2 separate regions of the Homo sapiens genome follow, and region 2 is linked to region 1. Evidence: promoter capture Hi-C in 16 types of primary human blood cells and fetal thymus (Javierre and others, 2016). All regions are on one chromosome and are shown on one strand. The core of a region is centred on a gene start or on the middle of the fragment in contact, and the rest is flanking DNA. Distances in the headings are between cores, read along the strand shown.

The links. Contacts are between HindIII fragments. The CHiCAGO score rates a contact against its expected background, and 5 or more counts as called.
Region 2: a fragment that was not itself captured here is called in contact with the fragment with the promoter of ANKRD13C in region 1 in 3 of 17 cell types (total B cells, naive CD8 T cells and non-activated CD4 T cells); the score reaches 7.4 in total B cells.

What each region holds. Positions count from the first base shown.
Region 1 is chr1:70,352,245-70,357,220 of GRCh38, forward strand. ANKRD13C (ankyrin repeat domain 13C) reads right to left here and starts at 2,478. Exons shown (of 13, transcript NM_030816.5): 1 at 1,735-2,478. The coding sequence starts at 2,164. ANKRD13C-DT (ANKRD13C divergent transcript) reads left to right here and starts at 2,567. Exons shown (of 4, transcript NR_168352.1): 1 at 2,567-2,964. RefSeq lists enhancers at 885-2,084, 1,344-2,262, 2,218-2,267, 2,263-3,180, 2,308-2,367 and 3 more. The HindIII fragment of the contact is 4,699 bases long and covers 2,018-4,976 here.
Region 2 is chr1:67,425,936-67,430,572 of GRCh38, forward strand. It overlaps SERBP1 (SERPINE1 mRNA binding protein 1), which reads right to left and starts at 4,467. Exons shown (of 8, transcript NM_001018069.2): 1 at 4,053-4,467; 2 at 200-350. The coding sequence starts at 4,365. RefSeq lists enhancers at 3,004-3,640, 4,276-4,637, 4,349-4,618. The HindIII fragment of the contact is 686 bases long and covers 1,862-2,547 here.

The DNA.
Region 1 (4,976 bases), core at 1,228-3,727:
CAGGAGAATGGCGTGAACCCGGGAGGCGGAGCTTGCAGTGAGCGGAGATTGCACCACTGCACTCCAGCCTGGGCGACAGAGCAAGACTCCGTCTCAAAAAAAAAAAAAAAAAAAAAAAAGTTAATTTCAGTGGGCTAAGGACAAGAGTTTAAGAGTATACAGGATTCTAATTACTTTGAACAGAATTTGAACTTAAACAAATGTACTCCTAAATGTTGGGTTGAAGAAGACATGGAAGCCCAACAATCCTGTAATTCAATAGCTTCAGTGATATTCATCCATCTCTTCTTTCAAAGGGAGTTAACTCTCAAACCTTTTATCTGTTTCAGGGATATTTCAAGGTAATGTAACTATGGCTACTATGTAAACCAAATTTGAAAAACTTCCTCATAATAGACTAATAAACTGAAGCTACAACCCATCTCCCACTAACAACTGTTTTCCAAAGGGCTAGCATAGAATTACCATCATCAACAAACAACATTATCCTTGTACTATAATAGTAAAATGATTAAGTAATTTAAATGTAGGAAAGAAAAACTGGCTGCAACTTTAACATACTTTTTTGGGGATTTATGATAAATGATAGGTGGTGATTTTATTACAATTACAACATTGTAAATTCTGAAAACAAATGCAGTTGTTAGATAATTATACAGCCAAGAGAAATCTTACTCGTTTTTTTTATCTGAATTTTTGTCCTAAAAAGCCTACGATCCAATGGAATTAAGTGAGCTTATTTCACAGGCAAATATTTCATTGATACGTATATCATTTTGAGCACAAAGTTGGTTCAGTGTGTTCTAACTGAATGTATACAATTTTCATATTAATAGCAGAGCGATCAACAATATTTGCCAACTACCCAGTTTAAAACGGCTATTAAATGTTAAAATGTCAGTGTTCACATTAGTCTTCAATAATAAATTTACTGTTGCTTAAAAGTCAACTCAGTCACATTATTTTTTAGAATTAAACAAAAAATTCAGCTGACAAGGCAAAAAGAAATGGTCAATATTGACTAAGATAAAATTACCATAAAAATCATAATACTATTTTTAGTCACAGTCATCAAGATGAGACATTACTATTAGCAATTATCTACTTAAAACAAGCAAAAAATCAAATCTCTACTCAAACAAAAATCGGCTGTTGAGAAGTCACTTTAACTGTTCTACGTATCAAATACCAACAAATTTCTACTGTGTGGCTTTCAGAAATCTAACATTCTAAGTTTACTGAAAGCAGACAAAAAAGAAACAACCTGGTGGCAGGCAAAATCACAACCAGTTGCAGTCAAGATGGGATCTGTATGTGAGCAATGAAGGGAGGAGGGCAATTTATGCGTTCAAAATTTAAAATGCCAAGGTAGGGGGAAGAGAGAGAAATAAAGATATATAGCTCCATAAACAAAGGGAGAAAACCATGTTGGGTGGGAGGCAACCTAAAATTTCTGACAGTCCAGAATCAGCAAATCGAAGGCCTGTCTCAAACAAAACAGCTTCTCACGACAAACTTTGAAGTGGGCAAGGAGGATACATTCCTTTGCACCCACAAGAACCAACCCCTTGACCACTGGCACGCTATTACTGAGTCGATCATGATTTACCGAACGGCCCGGATGATGGGCAAAAAGAAGAGTCTGCTGGAGGGGGCCTAGGATTCCAGAAGCCTGGGGAGGCACACCCTAGGCTCGGGGAAGGAGAGAGGTGGAGAGGGGCTAGCACTCCTCACCGTGATTATCTTTCTGCCCGATATTGTGCGTGCGGATGAGAGAGGAGAGTCTCCTCACATCCCCCTTGAAGACGCACTCGTGCACCGGGTAGTGTGCGGGGCAACTGCCTCCATCCGCGACGACAGCAACGGGGTTGGTGCCGGCCAGAAGGGCCGGGGACTGGGAGTTGGCAGTCACGGAGGAATTGTGCAGCGGCAGAGCCGGGGCGCCGGGGGGATTGGAGGAGGCCGGAGCTGCCTTCAGCTGTAGCCGGTGGTGATGGTTACTGAAGATCTTATGACAAGCTTTGCCGCCCTTGCCAATCCTGCTTCTGGTAAAGGTACCGCCGAGGGCAGCCGCCGCTTCCTCATCCCCGGGCTCCAGCAGGTCCCCTTCTTCTTTGCTGGGCTTGTGGTCCCTCCGCAGTGAGCGGATCTTCTCCCCGGTCATCGCCGCCGCCAGGGGCAAGGGGGGGAATCGGGAGGCTCACCGCTGGCGACGGAGCTGGCGCTGCGGCGGCACAAGGCGATTAGAGCGGTGGCCAAGAGCCTCCAGCGCAGCATGAACTCCCACTGAGCCCCCGAGCCTGGGACAAACGCATCTCCCGGGGAAGAGCCGGCTCTCGCCTAGGCACGAAGGGACGCGCGCTCGCTGGGGGAAGCTAGAACTCAGGTGCCCACGACACCAGGATCTCAGTCTCGCCGTCGCAGCCGCCGTCGCTGCCTTACACCGAAAAACAGGGCACGGCCATCTTCCTCTTGCTCCTCTCGCGAGAGCTCCCCCAGGAGTGAAGAGAGAGAAAACACCGCGATAAGTGAGCCACCCGCTCCCTCCCTCGCACCTTCTATTCCCAGAATCACTAGGCGCCGGCGCCTCCGAGGCAGTGTGTTTCCGCCCAGAGCTGGAGTCTCCCAGCTGCCAGCCGACCCCGAACCCGCACTCCCGCCAACCGCGCTTTTTGTGGGCGGTCGGAAACCACAGCCTCCGTTGGATATGTTCGGTGCATGTTATAAACAACCACTTAAACCCTCCGGATCTGAGCCTCCCGCAGAGGAATGCAGAATGACGCCACGGCACGCAGGATGTGATGTCACCGAGATGCAGAGGATACTCAGTCAACCAACATTTACTGAGCATCTACTTCGTGCCGTATGTACGAAGCTAGCAAATATGTACAGCACCAGTACTGATTGCAGGGAGCACTGTAGAAGAGGAATGAAGGCCAAACAATTAAAAGCGGAGGCGGGGAGGTGGGTTGCACACAAAAAAGGGAGGGACGAATTTTAGTGTTGAGTTGTCAGGAAAGTCATAGAAGAGTTTAGGTGCTGACTTTGGAAAATGATGGGCTGTCCAGCAATCGGAAAGAGGGGAGGCCACTCAAATATTTATTAGATGAATGAATTTCGGGCAGATGTCAGAGTTAACATATATGAGGGTGGGGACACTCAAGGAGGGCAAAGAATCGTGTAACTGAAATATAATTGTATTAGTTCATGGCCAACCTCAACCTAGTGTCAAACTCTGAAGAAACGTAAATCTGCCAACCATAAAACTTTAACAAAGTAACTAAAGCTGGCCACTGAGGACGTAAGGAGGGGGCTTAGCAAAACATCCTAAAGATCTTCACCCATTTAACTCTCCAAAGTCCCCCTATGTTCTGAGAGCAAATACTTCAGATCTCTCTCTCTTTTTTTTGTTTTTTTGTTTTTTTGACAGAGTCTCTGTAGTCCAGGCTAGAGTGCAGTGGTGCAATCTCGGCTCACTGCGACCTCCACCTCCCAGGTCCAAGCGATTCTCCTGCCTCAGCCTCCAGAGTAGCTGGGATTATAGGCCTGCGCCACCACACCAAGCTAATTGTTGTATTTTTAGTAGAGACGGGGTTTCACCGTGTTGGCCAGGCTGGTCTTGAACCCCTGACCTCAGTGATCCGCCAGCCTCAGCCTCCCAAAGTGCTGGGATTACAGGCATGAGCCACTGCGCCCGGCCAGATCTCTTCTTTCTTAAAGTTTATACTACTGCTAACTCATCTCCGCAAACAAACAACTCGATGGGCCTCTCTTAATCCTCCCCAGTCACTCAACTTTTCACCTCCAATTTTCTTCTCAGTCTGTTCAGATAAATCTGTTTCTTCCTCTTCTTTCTTTTTCGGTGGAGTGGAGAGTTCCGTTTATGTTAAAACATTACCCAATCAACAGTTCAAAGCATCCTCTTGAGACAGCAGTAGAGACTGAAAAAATACATGCAATAATGTTTGCTTCTTCCACAATAGCCAATATTTATTGTTAACGCTAAGCCAGGCAGTATGCTTGGCACTTTATATGCTGTTATCTCCCCCTGATTAGCATTAGTATCCTCACTTGACAGTTAAAAAAAACTTGCCCAATACTTCAATGCTAGAATGTGGTACAGTCAAATCTGACAGTAAGGCTAGAGAGAGAGGAAGGGCCAGGTCATGCAGGGCTTTGTATGTCATCTTAAAAGTTTACACTTGGCCGGGCGCGGTGGCTTATGCCTGTAATTCCAGCACTTTGGGAGGCTGAGGCGGGCAGATCACGAGGTCAGGAGTTCGAGACCAGCCTGGCCAATATGGTGAAACCCTGTCTTTACTAAAAATACAAAAATTAGCTGGGCGTGGTGGCTTGTGCCCGTACTCGCAGCTACTCGAGAGGCTGAGGCAGAAGAATCGCTTGAACCCAGGAGGCGGGGGCTGCAGTGAGCTGAGATTGTGCCCCTGCACTCCAGCCTGGGGACAGAGTGAGACTCTGTCCAAAAAAAAAAAGGAATAGTCTTTTTAGAGATCTTTAAACAGGGAATAGCATAATGCAATCACCTTTATAGAAAATTCAGTGACTCAGGCCGAACGCAGTGGCTCATGCCTGTAATCCCAGCACTTTGGAAGGCTGAGGCGGGTGGATCACTTGAGGTCAGGAGTTCAAACCAGCCTGGGCAACATGGTGAAACCCTGTCTCTACTAAAAATACAAAAATTAGCCGGGCATGATGGTGGGTGCCTGTAGTCCCAACTACTCGGGAGGCTGAGGCAGGAGAATCGGTTGAACCTGGGAGGTGGAGGTTGCAGTGAGCCAAGATCGTGTAATTGCACTCCAGCCTGGGTGACAAGAGCAAAACTTGGTCTCAAAAAAAAAAAAAAATTAAAAAAAAGAAAATTCAGTCACTCATACTTTAGAGAAGTATGCATCAAGAACAGAACTTTAAAGAAGTATGCAGTAAATCAGATGATGAGAGCATGAACCAAGTTAGTA
Region 2 (4,637 bases), core at 955-3,454, 2.9 Mb before region 1:
ATAGTGAGACCTCAGCTCTACAAAAAAAATTAGCAGTGTGGTGGCGTGACCTTGTAGTCCGAGCTACTCAAGAGGAGACTGAGATGAGAGGATCATTTGAGCCCAGGAAGCAGAGGCTGCAGTGAGCCAAGCTTGTACCACTGCACTCCAGCCTACATGTTAGACCAAGACCCTGGCTCAAAAACAAGAAACAACTTACCTATCAACTGAAAATTCGCCTCCTTCACCCTTTTCTTCAAGTGGCTTTTCGAATCTTCGTTCACGAGGTGGTCGCCTTTCTGGTCTTCTATCAATTATTTTCCCTTCACCCTGAAGTTGTTGATCAGGTCTTCTTCCAACTCGTCTTATTCCTAAAACGATAAGATAACCTGCATAAGCAAATTATTTTTGCAATCCAAAAACTTTAGGCCTGGACTGTCAAAAGCTGCTTCTCTTCCAATCCACTACCATTTCCTGTTGGAAAAAAGCAAACACTGGGCAACTCTAATGTGTAACAAAGTACCTTAGGAAAACTGCCATTTAAAGACAATAAACCTTCCAATCCATACCACCGACTAAATACATAAATAAATAAAATAAAAACAATAAACTTATTTTAAACTTCTATTTAAGTTTGCCAAGTTCTCCCCCTCAAAAGCATTTTCTATAACTGACTTGGAAATCATTTGGGCAACCATTATTCCCGTCACTTTCCAAGATAGTCTCTTAATAAAAACTTTTAAATTTAAAAAATTTTAGGCAAGCAATACATTTTGGCTTTTAAAATACCAAAGAAAATACCAGCAGCCATTCATAAATAACCAAGCAAATCAACACACTCACTAGATATGGCCCCTCACAAAAGTGAGGGCCGCACTATGTTATTCTATCTAATCTGAAAAAAAAATGCAATTAAGACTCATAATTCTATAAAATTACAAATCTGAAAGGAAAATATGGCATTTAGGATTATTAGAGAACATCACTTCAGTTTAAAACAGCCATTTAACCAGAAAAAGTGTCATCTTTTGGTCTTCTTAGCTACAGGCACACAAAAAGGGCCATCTTCCCCTATTAAAGTTTAAAATTTTATAGCATGTAAGTGTATATATGTTTGTACACACTCCCACATCCCTAAGTACTTCCAAGTTAGGAAACAGTTACTTATTATGCATGGAGAGAGTCCTCTAAAAAATTTGCCCTAACAACTATCTTTATTTTCAAAGAATCTTTAAAAACCAAATACACACACGTTAAGACCGCTTTTAAGCAACATGTAAGAAATAAGAAAACTTGTGACACTAAGTGATAGCTGAAGCATTTACTAATTTCCCCCTTTACTACTTTTTTCCTGTAATGTCTGAAACCCCACAAAGGCAACCAATTTAAATTATTGGTGCCCATAAGGATCAACAGATTGATGGTTAAATTAATGACTTTAAGATTGTTGGTATGCTCTAATTCCCAATTTCTGACAAAGTCATAAAGCAGCTGAGGAATTGGTTTTACAAGATTTTAAGCTGCTTCACTTTGGTTCTTTCTAAGAAAGTAGAACACCATCAAGACACACCCAGTTGTTCTGCTGCCTGTTAACTGGAGCCAAACAGTAACTATCAATCTCTTCAATAGAATTTTGAAGTTCATTCCCTGTAAATACTCAAGATAGACTACAAATATTAGACCTTACACCAAGGTATTTAAATAAATGTCATCAGTAATAAAGTGCACTGGGGTGGAGTTATGGAACCAGTCCTTGCAATAATATCCAAGCCAAACACACCCAAGTGAACAATAGTTGGCGTCCCCACCCAATATCAAGTTTACAGAATCTTAAAAACGTATTAAACCTACCTAATGAAAAAGACTGACATTTAAAAATGCAAGCTTCTTTTGATATACTTATCTATAACTTGCAAGCTCACTAACTGCACTAGTTTCAAGGCATTCATTCTTTTTTAGAAAATCCCTGGTCTACACTCTCAATGACATTCTGCTGTCAATTCTCAAGTTCTTCAAATGGGCAAGAGAATGTACAAAATTAATTCATAAAACATAAACATTAAATATCTGTCTAAAGTATGTCAAGTATTATGTCACAATGTGTTATCAAAATCACAGAACACAATCAGGTTAACCTTCCTACTACATGCAGCGACTTTGTTTACAGATTTATTCCCAGTAATCAGGACAGTAGAATCTCAAAACGGGTATTGTCCATTCAACACTTTTCCTGTATTTTACATGCTTGTATTTTATGCAACTTAACAGTAGTGCTCTGAAATACTGACCTAAGGAAAATGCTGATTGCTAACATGGAATAGTTTTCCCATGGAAAGACTCATTGAACGGTGAACCTAAGTCTTGGTTCTAACTTCATGAAATCATTCCCCACATTTGTTAACTTAAAATACTACTTTTCAGGTAAGAGCTTATTTCATAGATGGGCTTCATGATCAAAATAACTCAGGCATTTAAACCATGCTTCATGTTTTGAACATTCAAAATGAGTGAACACATCTACCTGGTACACATTATTCGTCAGATTCAACTTTTTCGTGTACTTTCTTAAGCTTAAGCATAGTTTAAATAATTACACAAGTCAGCGTTACTTAACACACGAATTAAATGATTTATTTAATTGTGCTAGATTGCCATAAAGCTTAACTGGCTGAAGAGATACTTGGCCTAAGTGATATACATGCTTTCTAATACTCCAACTGTATTTTTCCTCAACCTATAATTTTACCACAAGAATTAATTATTTTCTTTTATTCACCACCTAGGACCGAGGTTCTTCATTCCGAGCCTCACAAAAGTCCTCAAAAAAAAAAAAAAAAACCCTCCTAAAACAAATCCTACCACGAGAAAATTGTTTTGATTTTTAAAATTAGTTCACTGTTACAGAATTCAACTAAAGCTAAAGAGAAACAACTCCTTTCAGAGAAGCACGTGGCAGGAAGGGGTAATTTCAACTTTCAACATATAAATGCAGCTTTAAAGATTCAGACCTTAGGTCCAACACCTGCTTGCTATTGATCATGCACGTTCTTATCTCCAAACTGCTTGCTCTTTTTTTTCATCCGCAACAAACTGGTAAAGCGAATGCAAAAATCAAGACAATCCTGTGAAACTCACAGTGCCCTAGAAACAACTATTAACCGCCAGTGAAACTCTGACCATGCTTCACGCACATGTGGTGGAAAAAAAAAACTGCGAACTCTAAAGAGCTCTGCTGCGACTAACGCTGTGACAGCCTCTGCACTCACTTCACCCACGAGGCCCAGACCCCACCACGTGAAAGATTCAGTTTGGGGAGTCGAGAGAGAGGATCGTGACTCGAGGACGTTCCTCGGGATGTCCTGCAATCACCAGTCTTCATTCATAATTCCCGCTCCTGGTTAATCGAGTGTGGCCAAACTCCTCCATTTCCCAACGGCTCAACTCACCCCAGCAAGTTATGAGAAAGTCCTAACAGTTGAGAGGTGGAAGAGAAACAAATAAAGGACATGCGGCACCCCAACCTGCAGCTTACTCCACACGTCTGATGGCCTGGAACGACCCCCTGCTTTTCAGCGGGGATACTCCGCGCCGTCGTGGGACAAGACGGCAGGACAGGAGCCTGAAACAACAGCACCTCAAAGGAGCAGCTCTGCGCAGTAAGCAGCGATGGACCCCCAAGCTCCTCCGTAACTACGGAAAGCTTCGGTGAGGGGCCGGCTTCCCCGCACCTCAGTCCATGCGCTCACCCGCCAAGGAATCCGGCGGGAAGGCAACAGCCTCCCAGGACCTCGAGCGCGCTCGAGGAGCAGCTCATCTCCGACCACGCTCCTCTGCTCACAACCTGAGGCGGGAAGGGGATGGCTCCGAGAACCTCGCCGGCGGTGGCTTGAACTTGGGGCTACCACGCTCCTGGCACCTTCGCAGGACCGGACTTTTGTCGCGTGAAGAAACGTGAGGATATAGGCGGCAAAGTCTCCCGCGGACCCTCGGAGCTCCAGAAACAAGTGGCAGCCGGCAGCCCCCTCGCTCCTTCCCTCCATCCCAGTCTCCCCCACATTCTGCCCCTGCTTTACCTTCTTTCTTAAGCGCCACGGGCGGCTGCGTCTCCTCTTTCTTGTCAACCACGCCAACGCTGGGGGGCAGCGGGTTCTTGCGGTCTTTCTGGGACTCCTTGCGCAGCTGTTTGCCTGCCGCGTTGGAGTTGGTCTGGGCCGCGGCCTGAGCTGCGCTCTTGGCCCCAGGGCCCCCAACGCCGCCCCCGCCGGCTTCTTTTTTCTTGTTCTCTGCTGCCTTCAGCACCTCGAAGGGGTCCGATTCGTCGTCAAATAACTGGTCGAATCGGTTGGTGACCACGCAGCCGAAGCCTTCCTGTAAGTGCCCAGGCATGATGGTGGCTCGGCGGCGCGTTCCTCCACGGATTGCAGCGGGCCGCGCCGAGCCAAGAGCGCCTGCTTCAGCTCTTCCCACAAGATGGCCGGGCCGAGAGAGGGGGGCCGTCTTCTCTTCCGGCGCCAGGCACACATCCGGGAGCGGCCTGCGCCGCAAGGCACTGTGGGGTATGTAGGCCAGAGTCATTTCTCCTGAGGCGACTCTCCGCGTCGGGACTACAATTCCCAGGACGCACCGCGCGACAACTCTTCGCGCGCGCCTGAGAGGCG